Regions from separate parts of the Homo sapiens genome. Here region 1 is linked to region 2. The links are contacts of gene promoters, found by promoter capture Hi-C in blood cells and fetal thymus (Javierre and others, 2016). All regions are on one chromosome and are shown on one strand. The core of a region is centred on a gene start or on the middle of the fragment in contact, and the rest is flanking DNA. Distances in the headings are between cores, read along the strand shown.

What was found. Contacts are between HindIII fragments. The CHiCAGO score rates a contact against its expected background, and 5 or more counts as called.
Region 1: a fragment that was not itself captured here is called in contact with the fragment with the promoter of GGCX in region 2 in 1 of 17 cell types (monocytes); the score reaches 5.1 in monocytes.

The regions. Positions count from the first base shown.
Region 1 is chr2:86,114,689-86,121,395 of GRCh38, reverse strand. It overlaps PTCD3 (pentatricopeptide repeat domain 3), which reads right to left. Exons shown (of 24, transcript NM_017952.6): 5 at 4,798-4,866; 6 at 4,237-4,341; 7 at 2,352-2,475. Among named protein-coding and RNA genes, the nearest start is that of PTCD3, 12 kb to the right of the region's middle. The HindIII fragment of the contact is 3,021 bases long and covers 1-2,786 here.
Region 2 is chr2:85,556,949-85,563,228 of GRCh38, reverse strand. GGCX (gamma-glutamyl carboxylase) reads left to right here and starts at 1,736. Exons shown (of 15, transcript NM_000821.7): 1 at 1,736-1,843; 2 at 2,244-2,414; 3 at 4,154-4,312; 4 at 4,624-4,789. The coding sequence starts at 1,801. RefSeq lists an enhancer at 1,533-1,762. The HindIII fragment of the contact is 2,007 bases long and covers 384-2,390 here.

The DNA.
Region 1 (6,707 bases), core at 27-2,526, 560 kb before region 2:
ATATTAGCGGTGGTCTTCAGGGCTACACACTTAATGTTGTCCACTACTTTATGCACTCAACGTCAACTTAAACACCTGAAGTGACGTAGACAGGGACATAACCCCTATTAACCATGTAATTTGACGTAGAAGATTGGAACACAAGATGAAGTTTGGGCCTGTGCTCACTTATTTTATGTACTCATTATCCTCAAACTACTTCATGGTTTTAATTATCATCACCAAACTGAACACACTGCAAACTATCCCCACTTAGTTCCCCCAGCCCAGGTGCATTTGAACAAATGCAAGTAGAATTATTCCATTTGGATCCAGATACTCACTGAAAACTTGCCTAGAAATACTAGCATAATTGTCGAACTATAGTAGTCTCTTAAAAATTGTTCAAAACATTATGTCCCCATCTTGACACTCATTAAAAAGGCTAAAAAGGGAATAGGAGGAAGACAAGTATGAGATATAATCTGCTATCTTATAAGAAAAGTAAATGTATCTTTTTGTTTTGAGATAGGGTCTCATTCTGTCGCCCAGGCTGGAGTGCAAGGACATCACAGCTTACTACAACCTTGAACTTCTGGGCTCAAGTGATCCTCTCACCTCAGCCTTCCGAGCAGCTGTGACTACAGGTATGTGCCACTGCACCTGGCTAATTTTTAAATTTTTTGTAGAGATGAGGTCTCGCTATGTTGCCCAGGCTGGTCTTGAACTCCTGGGCTCAAGCAATCCTCCTGTTTTGGCCTCCCAAAGTGCTGGGATTACAGGTGTGAGCCACCATGCCTAGCCAATAAATTATCTTTCTAAACAAAATACATTGATAAATTTAAAATGCCCATCAGGAAATGTAAAAAGTCCAGAAGAGAAAGCAGGGCAGAGGGTACAGGCTATGGAGAAGCAACTGGTTCACACTATCTCAAAGCTATGAGACCCTGGAAAAATTACCTAATAATTACCTTCATAAGATTATTATAAAACACACCAATGAATAAGGTATTGTAGAATTAAGTATGTGAAATGGCTAGCACAGTGTTTTGCACTTATTAGGGGCCTGACAATGAAATGTTCTAGGATCCTTTCCCTGGTATGTTAGCTCACTTTGTTACTGAGCTATGGGTCTGACACCTGTCTTTACTGAAGGACTGCACACACCTATCCAATAAAGGGGGTAAAACTAGAAAAAGACAAGCCTTAGCACTAAGAACTTCAATGCAGACTCACACCAGATGCCGATCATATTAACAAGCAGAGGGAAGCGCCTCACTAAATTACAATCTATTGCCATCACTCAGCCATACATCTGATGCTGTACCAAGCCACACACCAAAATTCTCAAACATAGCTTTCTGCAAATGTTTCTTGTGTTCAAGTGTATAATGATTCAGTCCAGTTTCCACCACTTCCATGTTTATTCTAAATCACCAAATAGCACTCTAGATTCTAAAAACTTAATGCCAGCTGCTTCTGATGTTGCTATATGTAGATTTTCATGTTGACTTATCAGCTGTGCTATTTACGTGTGTAGCTCCGCAAGTTTACATCCAGCTCCAATTCAGAGAACCACACAATTTTAGAGCTAGAAGTTTTGAGAAATTAAGTAACTTTTTGAATGCTAAGAACAATTAGTGACACAGATGGCACCAGCATCAAAGCCCCTGATCCTAGTTGAGTGTGCTTTCCTTTTCACGTATTTCTTTCTTGTGTGTTGTGGCCCAATCTTCCAAACATCCTTAAAGAGTCTAGGAAAGCTGGGCGCGGTGGCTCACGCCTGTAATCACAGTACTTACGGAGGCCGAGGTGGGTGGATCACGAGGTCAGGAGATCGAGACCATCCTGGCTACATGGTGAAACCCCGCCTCTATTAAAAACACAAAAAAGTTAGCTGGGCGTGGTGGTGGGTGCATGTAGTCCCAGCTACTCAGGAGGCTGAGGAGGGAGAATGGCATGAACCTGGGAGGCGGAGCTTGCAGTCAGCCGAGATTGCGCCACTGCACTCCAGCCTGGGCGACAGAGCAAGACTCCATCTCAAAAAAAAAAAAAAGGAAAAGGGTACAGGAAATCTGGGAGCACTGCATACCTACCTAACATTAAAAACAGAAGCTAAGGTAGAAGGGTGATACAATTTCTCTACCAGTGCTACAATAAACCAACAAAGCTGCAATTCTACTTCGCCTGTAATTCTTAAGTAACACTAAAGCTAAAAATGAAATAAACTACTAAAAATATAAAGCACGCAGCCATCAAAGCAGAGTAAGTACAGCAGGACCTGTAACTCTTACTCAAAATATATGAATCATATAACTTGGGCCCACTTCAAAGCCCATGTTATTAGAGGGGCTTTAATCGAACTCAGTCACCTGCTTGCAAAAGCTGATCAAACATGTCCACAGAGGCTTTGACTTTTCTGAGCTCAATTCGTTCCTTCAGGGCGGCTTCACTTATGTCTTTGATCTGAGGTTCAAAGTACTCAGGCATTAAACACTAGGAAAACAAGATGACTAAAGTTACTACAAACAGGTAAAGGTGAGGGAAGGATAACTGAGTAGGACAAAACTTTTATCACCAACATACCAAAGTAAAACTTCACTGCTCCAATTCATGTTTCCTGCACCAGATACTACTGATCATTTTAACATCACTGTCTTCACAGGGAATTGAACTAAACCTTTCATCTCTAATGCTGTGTATCATCTAAACATTTAATACTACCCAAGGTATGCTGATTTTACCTCATTCACTAACTTATTCAAATACTTTCTGAATGCCTACTATTTTACCCCAGACATTAAGCTTGGCACTGGGGATACAGAGACGAAAGGCATTCTCTACCTTCAGGGTGCTCACAATCTAATGGAGAAAGACACTGTCTTAGTTTAGGATTTTAATATTTTGACTTACACAATCACACTGGCTTCCTCATCTATGTGCAAGTTCTACTATGAAAACAAGAAGTGTGTGTTTCCCTGTGAGCTTTGGGAAGCAGAGAGATGTAGGGATATGGGAGCAGTTTAGATATGATGAGTCTGAGATTAGTACTTCCACCAACAAACTCAGGAGGGCAGAGGCGCATCTGTTTTGCTCACCACTGTATGGACAAGCACTAAGCACAATACCCACCACACTGCATAAATCCTCACTCCAAAACTACAGAACAAAGAGGGAGCTGGAAATACAATGTGGAGTTCAAAGTAAAGGGATCTAGGCTAGATATACAAAAGAGTACCAAATGGATTATAAGCGTCACTGAAACAGAAGAGTATACACAATAAAAAGAGAAAATGAGCATAAAAATCTAAGAAAGATACCCATGCTTAAGAAGTGGATCAAGGCCGGACACGGTGGCTCACACCTGTAATCCCAGGACTTTGGGAGGCCAAGTCGGGTGGATCACGAGGTCAGGAGTTCAAGACCAGCCTGGCCAAGATGGTAAAACCCCGTCTCTACTAAAACTATAAAAATTAGCCAGGTGCGGTGGCAGGCACCTGTAATCCCAGCTGCTCAGGAGGCTGAGGCAGGAGAATTGCTTGAACCCGGGCGGCAGAGGCTGCAGTGAGCCAAGATCGTGCCACTGCACTCCAGCCTGGGCAACAGAGTGAGACTCCATCTCAAACAAAAACAAACAAAAAAAGAAGCGGATCAAGAGCAAGCAGCAGTGGCTTACACCTGCAATCCCAGAGATTGCAGAGGCTGAGAAGGGTGTTTGCTTGAGCCCAGAAATTTGAGACCAGCCTGGGCAGTGCAGTGAGACAAGACCCTGTTCTCTACAAAAACTAAAAATTAAAAAAAATCAGCCAGGCATGGTGGCACACCCCTGTAGTCCAAGCTACTTGTGAGGCTGAGGCAAGAGGATCACTTGAGCCCAGGGGTTCCAGGCTGCAATGAGCTATGATTGTACCATTGCACTCCAGCCTGGGTGACAGCATGATGCCGTTTCAAAAAAAAAAAAAAGGAAGAGAAAGATGTGTATAGAGAGGTAGTGAAGGAAACTTCAGTCATAGAATTAAAGACCTAAGAGCATGGTGTCACAAAAATCAAATGGGGAAAATATTAAGATGAAGAGCAAATAAATACAGAAAGAATTTTAAAGTTAGTCTTGTGATCAAAGCTAACTCCACACTTTAAAAGGCTTATCATCCAAATATTGAGGGTATTCAAATAGCTACTGAAATATTAGCCATGAAAGCCTGGTTTAATTTACATTTAAAATAGTATTATGTAAATAATGTAACTACCTCTCCTTACCGGTATATGAGGTTCAGCTATGTCCTTCTGAAAATATTTGGGGTATGAATTAATAATAAACTTGGCCACATTCTCCCCGGATTTCTTTGCCAGTAAAAATGAACGCTATATAAAGAAAAAGATTTAAATACATGTAATTTAAACTCAAGCAAGATTATAGTTACACTCTCAGCAAGAATTTCTCCCCCCTCACAAAAAAAAACAAATGCAACAACACGCAGAATCCCAATTAGAAATTATAGACTATCCCACCTTTTCTACTGTGATATAATTTCAGTTAGCATCTTATACACAGCTTGAAATATATAAAAAGCAAGCCATTTAAACTGAGTGGGTCACTCCAGTGTGAAAAAGCCCTAAGTATTAGAAACCAAAACCAAAAATCCTTTCCCCATTGACGATATGTACATCTTTTTGAAGAAAGTAGTAAAGGATTCACATAGTCTATCAATTTCTCAGCATTTGTAAACCTTTCCCAGGTTATTACAACTAAATTATTTATGTACTGTTGTACGCAAACCAGAGAGATAAAACACTAGAAAATTATATGAAAATACTCACAGATTCCAAAGATGATGCTGGCATAAGGTAAGGATCATCTTGAAACACATAAGGCACAGCTGTGGTATCCTGTGGAAAAGACATAATACAATTTCTATATTTATTTTGAAGACAGCTCACTGTAACTTTTAGCTCCTGGACTCAAGGGATTCTCCTGCCTCAGCCTCCCAAGTAGCCTAGGCTACAGGTGTGTGCCACCACAGCTGGCCATTTCACAAAATTTTTTGCAGAGAGGGTGTCTTGCTGTGTCACCCAAGCTGGTCTCAAACTCCTGGCCTCAAGCAGTTCTCTCACTTCTGCCTTACAAAGGGCTAGGATTATAGACGTGAGCCACTGTATCCAGCCCACAAGTCTTTCTAGCTAAATTTTTAAGAGGACCTTGTGAGTTTTGATAAACAAAAATTCCGTAAGTTGTAATTATGTATGTAACCTAAATGCGCAAACGTGTGTGGGCATATATACATGTATATATAGAGAAAAAAGACAAAAGACAAACACCTGCACTGTACTCTCAGCTCTACAAGACTTGCCTTTAATTATGCAAGGCAAGCAATGGCTTAAGCCTCCCTCCCCATGGCTGATTTTAATATTTAAGTTTGCTACCACTGGGGACTGTTTTAAACTCTAGGTAAGAATCATCTGAATTAACTAGTCCTAACAGCAGAATCCCAGAATAGGATTTCCTCCAAAGCAAGGTCACTATCCACCCACGCTCAACTTCACCAAGAGTCCCTCCTCCAAATGGAAGATATCACCGTGCCCTCTGAGGAATGAACAACAGAACCTTCTCCCACGTCCTGTTACCCATTAAAATTGCTCCCTAAACCTGAGCATAATCAACTCTCCAATACCACCAGGGGCCCCACTGAGAAATGCCCCAGAATTGCTTTCTTTATTCTCTTCTGTGTCTGAGTGCCTTACTTGGGCCTTTATTCCAAAGCAAAAACTTATCCTATATCCTTAATGCTGTTTTACTGACCTGGACTCCTCAGGGAGGGGGCACAGAAGCTTCCCTGCAGCTCTCAACGGAAAGCTGCTCATACCTGGAACCTGGAGGCAGTGTTTTATTTTGGACCTAGCTTTCTGCTACCCCTTTCAAAAACCCCTTTCCCTTGAGCCTCACCTTAGCAGCCCTGTTGTGAACTTCAGTTTTTATTTGAATTATACTAATGGAAAGCCAATGTTGAATTCTTAAGAGTGATATGATCCAGGGTCACTACAGCTGCTGAACTGAGAGCAGTGTGCAGGGAGGTGCAGTGGGAGACGACAGAGACTGCTGCAATTAATCCAGACTTGTAAGACGACAATAACCAAGGTGACTGGTAGTGATATCAGGCATCTAAAATTTTGATATTTTGCAGAAAAGAGTTAACAGACCTGAAACCATTATCCTTAGGAAGGTCTGCGTCCAAGGCTGGCCCTTGGCTGCCATCTGGGAACCTGGATATTGGAAGGGTTCTCACCATTCCTAGAACTGCTAAGAATGGTTCACTGTGCCTAACCTGTTTGTACAACGTGTTTTGTGCCAAACACCTGCTTCCCTTCTGGGAGTATGGAAACTTGGTATAATATATGCCAGCCAGTGGGTGGTCTACATGGCCAGCCTCCCCTAAAAACTCTGGGCACTGGGTCTCTAATGAGCTTTGGTAGACACTTTGCATGTGTTGTCACAAGTCACTGATGGAGGAATTAAGCATGTCCTGTGTTGAATCTTCTGGAGAGGTCTTTTGGAAGCTTGTGACTGATTTCTTTTGGTCTTTATCCAATGAGCCTTTTCTCTTTGCTGACTTTGCTTTGTATCTTCTTGCTGTCATAACTCTTAGCCTGGGAGTGGTCACGGAGACCTCACACACACGTATCTTTTGAAGGGATAAACAAAGGCTTTGCTAACAATTCCCAGGATTTTGGCC
Region 2 (6,280 bases), core at 487-2,986:
GGCGTGAGCCACCGCGCCTGGCCTCAAAAAAAAAAATTTTTTTTTTCAGGACGGCGTCTTGCTCTGTCGCCCAGGCTGGAGGGCAGTGGTGCGATCTCGGCTCACTGCAAGCTCTACCTCCTGGGTTCACGCCATTCTCCTGCCTCAGCCTCTCGAGTAGCTGGGACTGCAGGCGCCTGCCACCACGCCCGGATAATTTTTTGTATTTTTAGTAGAGACGGGGTTTCACCGTGTTAGCCAGGATGGTCTCGATCTCCTGACCTCGTGATCCACTCGCCTCGTCCTCCCAAAGTGCTGGGATTACAGGCGTGAGCCACCGCGCCCGGCCAAAAAAATTTCTAATACGGCAAATATTGAAAGATATAATCCACATAAACAAAGCTTTTAGGGTCTTCTATAATTTCTAACACTGTAAATGGTTCCCAAGACCCAACTGTTTGAGAACCGCTTCTCTGGGATGCCTTCTTCTTTTCCTGCTGGCTAATCCCAGTGGAGAGATTTAGGTATTTAATTCTGCTCCAGACTCACCTCTGAGAACCTTCCCTGATGGGCCACACTCTACTCACTGCCCTTGCTCTGTATCCCCTCTTCAGTTATGTTGTTCCTGTTTCCCTGGCTGCTTTTAATTTTCTTTCTTTCTTTTCTTCCCGCCTTTTCTTTTCTTTCTCTTTCTTTTTCGTTTTTTGTTTTTTGAGACGGAGTCTCACTCTGTCGCCCAGGCTGGAGTGCAGTAGCGCGATCTTGGCTCACTGCAACCTCCGCCTCCTAGGTTCAAGCGATTCTCCTGCCTCAGCCTCCCGAGTAGCTGGGATTACAGGCGCACGCCACCATGCCCGGATTATTTTTGTATTTTTAGTACAGACGGGGTTTCACCATGTTGGCCAGGCTGGTCTTTAACTCCTGACTTCAAGTGATCCGCCCGCCTTGGCCTCTCAAAGTGCTGGGATTACAGGCTTGCTGCCGCACCCGGCTTGTTTTTTTTTTTTTTTTTTTTTGAGACGGGGTCTCACTGTGTCCCCCAGGCTGGAGTGCAGTGGTGCGATCACAGCTCCCTGCAGCCTCGAACTACTGGGCTCAAGCGAACCTCCCACCTCAGCCTCCCGAGTAGCTGAAACCACAGGAGCGCGCCACGACACACAGCTAACTTTTTTTTTAGTGTTTTTTCTTTTTTTGTTGTTGCCTTTTTTTTTTTTCTTTATCGATCCTCCCGCATTGGCCTTCCAAACTGTTGGGATTACAAGCGAGAGCAGTGCCCGGCCCCTACTGCTTTGAAACCTCGGTTCTTTGCAGGTCCTGGAAAAGAAAGTGAAGGGGTCGTGCAATGGCTCAAAACCCAGGCAACATTTCCAGGCGCGTCCTCAACTCGGCGTCACTCTGACAAAAAGTTTGCCCTTTGCGCCCGATCCCTCACACCAGAGAGCACCGCAGGGACGCAGGGACGGAGAGGACTAATGGGGTCGGGGAGGACCCAAGGAAGTTGGGGAACTCAGACTCTTTTCAGTGTTTAAAAAGCAGAGGCCCCCTCGGAAGGCATAACAGGCGAGTCTAACAATGCCCCTGGAGATCAACGGCACTAAGGGGTACCTTTGCCCCGCTCCAAGGCTCCTTGTTCCGCCCCCTGCCGCCAAGCAAGGAATCCGGCGCCGCCGGTCGTGGGTAGTATTTACGACAGTGCTGGCGCTTTGCGGCCGGCCGCACAGCCGCTGACGCGTCGGGAGGCGGAGCCTAGGGAAGCAAATTCTCCTGGCGGCCTCCGTTCAGACGCGGCAGCTGTGACCCACCTGCCTCCTCCGCAGAGCAATGGCGGTGTCTGCCGGGTCCGCGCGGACCTCGCCCAGCTCAGGTAGGCTTAGGACCCCGCCCTCCGGCGGAGAGTTCCTAGGAGCGCTGGTCTCAGAGGGGCGGGGGCGGGAGGACGCCCAGTGTCTCCCGGTGAGGCGGGGGGGGGGTCCTCTGTGGGGAAGGGGGCGTGCTGTGAGACATTTGCAGCCTGCGGCTTCTGAATGATGATGACATTCGGGAACACTGCGGTTAGGGGACTGTAGTCTGAGGGGTTCTGGGACATTAGGGGATCGTGGAGAGGGGGCTGCACTGCAGGGATGTTTCCTATAGTCAGATCATTGAGGCAACCTCATTGAGCCGACCCGGGTGGGCGGAAGCTCTGAGCTGTTGGTGCAGTGATTTCTTTGATTTGAGGTGGAGCCCACCCCCGCACACATATTTTCTCCATTTATTGATTGCAGATAAAGTACAGAAAGACAAGGCTGAACTGATCTCAGGGCCCAGGCAGGACAGCCGAATAGGGAAACTCTTGGGTTTTGAGTGGACAGATTTGTCCAGTTGGCGGAGGCTGGTGACCCTGCTGAATCGACCAACGGACCCTGCAAGCTTAGCTGTCTTTCGTTTTCTTTTTGGTGAGTCCAGTTTATGGGTGGGAGCAATTTGGTTGAGAGTGGAGAATGACAATCTCTATTTTTTGGTTGCAAGTAGACTTAGCTCCCTTTTCCTCAGAGCTGAAGACATTGGTATAAAAGAAGAGGTCTTTGCGAAGTTTAGGATTAAACCTGCTTTGTCTCCTACAGTTAGGATTTACTTGGTGGCCAGAAATGCTTTTTTTTTTTTCCTTAGACGGACTTTCGCTCTTGTTGCCCAAGCTGGAGTGCAATGGCGCTATCTCGGCTCACTGTAACCTCCGCCACCCGGGTTAAAGCGATTCTCCTCCCTCAGTCTCCCGAGTAGCTGGGATTACAGGCGCCCACCACCACACCCGGCTAATTTTTTATTTTTTTTGTATGTGTGTTTTTAGTAGAGACGGGGTTTCACCATGTTGGCCAGGCTGGTCTCAAACTCCTGACCTCAGGTGATCCGCCTGCCTCGGCCTCCCAAAGTGCTGGGATTACAGGTGTGAGCCACCGTACCCAGCTAGAAATGCTATATGATATGTAGAGGCGAGGCAGCAGTGACCCATTTTGCTTGTGGCATGAAGTTGCCCAGAAGACTCAGAGAAACAGAGCAGGGGGCCACAGGGACCATACCTTTTGGCTGTGACTCCCTAATCAAGAGCTTCTTAACTGAGGCCGCAGCATGGTGTGCTTGGAATGGTTTACAGATGTGCAGAGATATTAGTCCCCTTAGCCCAGTAGTTCTCAACTGGAGGGAGTTTTGCTCCCTGGGAGACATTTGGCAATGTTTAGAGACATTTTTAGTTGTCACAACTTGGGGGAGGAAGAATAGGTGGCTGCTGGCATCTCTATAGAGGTCAGGGAGTGCTCCTAAATGTCCTGTAGTGCATTGGATAATCCCCTCAATAAATAATTAACCAGCCCAAAATGTGACTAGTCCTGAAGTTGAGAAACCCTGCTTTATCTCAAGCTGGCTTCCTGATCTGAGTAGCCTCTTCTGTTTATTCCCAGGGTGTTGACGAAATGCAACTGTTTTTGGAGTGTGCCAGGAAGCAGAAAAGGTTGAGAAGCACTCCCAGAGCACTTTCTTTCTTTCTTTCTTTCTTTTTTTGAGACGGAGTTTCGATCTTGTTGCCCAGGCTGGAGTGCAATGGTGTGATCTCGGCTCACTGCAACCTCCGCCTCCCAGGTTCAAGTGATTCTCCTGCTTCAGCTTCCCGAGTAGCTGGGATTACAGGCATGCGCCACCACACCTGGCTAATTTTTTTGTATTTTAAGTAGAGACGGGGTTTTTCCATGTTGGTCAGGCTGGTTTCGAACTCCCAACCTCAGGTGATCTGCCCACCTCAGCCTCCTAAAGTGCTGGGATTACAGGCGTGAGCCACCGTGCCTGGCCTCCCAGAGCACTTTCTGAAGCTCAATAGGATGGATCTTTATAGCTGTCAAGACCCTAACAGTTTTTATAGCATTTTGTGCATTTCTGTAATTTAATCCTCTCTGTAGTCCTGTGATGTATTCCCCTTCTCACAAATGGGGAATTGGTTAACCGAGCTGCAGGGGCTGTTCTAGATGGCACAACAGATGTAGTACTGTGCAGAGTAGGCACTCAATAATTAATACTGAATAAATGGCAGAGCCAAGATTAGAAAAGAAGTCTGACCCTGGAGCTGCACACTGTCAACTGTGTTCCACTGTATTCTACTGCTTCCTTAGCTGAGGCCCAATGACCAACTCCCCTATTGCCTTCTTAGGGTTCTTGATGGTGCTAGACATTCCCCAGGAGCGGGGGCTCAGCTCTCTGGACCGGAAATACCTTGATGGGCTGGATGTGTGCCGCTTCCCCTTGCTGGATGCCCTACGCCCACTGCCACTTGACTGGATGTATCTTGTCTACACCATCATGTTTCTGGGTGAGGGGAACTGTGGGAAATATTGACTGGCCTGCCAGAAACACAGAAATAGAAGCATGCTGGTGAATGGTCAAAGTCTTTGGCACCTTATTTCACTTCTGCTGTGATCAATTTCATGCTGTTGACCTGTGTGTCACTTAAGCTGTGATCCCATAATTCTTTTTAAAATATTAAAATAACATTTAATTTTCATTTAGTTTTATGTGATTATACAATGCTTGATTTTTCTTAATTCCAACCATATCCTGGTCCAGGGAAACTGGGCCTGTGGTGATCTCTTGACCTCTTAATCCTCTCCCTACAAATCCCAGGGGCACTGGGCATGATGCTGGGCCTGTGCTACCGGATAAGCTGTGTGTTATTCCTGCTGCCATACTGGTATGTGTTTCTCCTGGACAAGACATCATGGAACAACCACTCCTATCTGTATGGGTTGTTGGCCTTTCAGCTAACATTCATGGATGCAAACCACTACTGGTATGAGTCAGGGGGGACAAAGGGGAGGGGTTGGCTGGGTCAGGATGGTTATCAGAGATAGGGGCCCAGTGAGGTTCTGGAATTTTTCAGTCATGTTTGCAAAGTATGGTTACAAGGTCACTTTGATCTAGGTGGATTTGGGAGGGGAAAGGGCCAACTAGTTGGAGCGCTTGGGATGACACAAAGCAAAATGGCTCCATCCCACCCCTTCAGTCTTTCCCTATCTCCCCAGGTGCCTTGATTTATTCACCTCTTGTAACCCTCTTAGAGAGAAAAACAGAATACTAAAGCCAGACATGGCTGTTTTCAGATACTTTAAGGGTGGTTATGTAGAAGAGGGAGCAGACTTTCTCTGTGTGAGTCCAGAAGGGCAGAGTTAGAGCCAAAAGTAGAAGTTGCTGTGAGGCAGAGATCATGTCAGGAGAAGAGGGCCCACCAGGGCTGCTCAGCATTGCTGTTCTCGGAGGAGGTAACCCTTCCCCATTTCTGGCTTAGGTGACTGTCTCTAAGGGGAGGTGGAGAAGGGATTTGGAGATAAGGTGGTGGGGCAGTTGACCTTAAGGATTCTTTATATGTTGAGTGAAAAGTAATAAAATAGGTGTCAATAACATGAGTATGGGGAAAAAAACTCAAACATTGAATTCATTAACAGTCATTAAGTTTTATTTATTTTTCTTTTTATTTATTTATTTTTAAATAGAGATGGGGTCTCGCTTTGTTGCCCAGGCTGGTCTTGAACTTCTGGGCTCAAGCAGTCCTCCCACCTCGGCCTCCCAAAGTGCTGGGATTACAGGCATGAGCCACTGTGTCCGGCCTATTTGTTAATACACACATACAAAACCCCTTTGGTAAAACTTGAAACTCATTCAGAATGGCCAGCTCTGATCATAGAGAATTAAGAGGCAGTTTTGATAGAATATCTCTGAAAAGTTCCGTTGTGGGGATATTTGTTGAGATGGCATCTCACTGTGTCGCCCAGGCTAGAGTGCAGTGGCGTGATCATAGCTCACTGCAGCCTCAACCTTCTTGTGTTTAGGTGATCCTTCCATCTCAGCCTCCTGAGTAGCTGGAACAACAGGTGTGTGCCACCACACTCAGCTAATTTTTAAAATTTTTTGTAGAGATGGGATCTCACTATGTTGCTCAGGCTAGTCAGAAGTTCCATTTTTATGACTTTATGCATTTTGAAAAAATCACTTATCATTTATTCAGGGTTTTCCACATCGCAGGCACTATACTAAATATTTAGAGTTTTTCCTCATTAAAACCCTGTAAGGTCGATGGTGCTGTTCACATTTTATGTTTTTTGGAGTCAGGGTCTTGCTCTGTCACTGAGGCCAGAATGCAGTGGTGCAGTCATAGCTCACTGCAACCTCAAACTCCTGGGCTCCAGAGATTCTCTCGCTTTAGCTTCCCAAAATGTTGGTATTATAGGTATGAACTACTGAGCCTGGCCTGTTCACATTTTAAAGATAAAGAAGCTAAGTATTA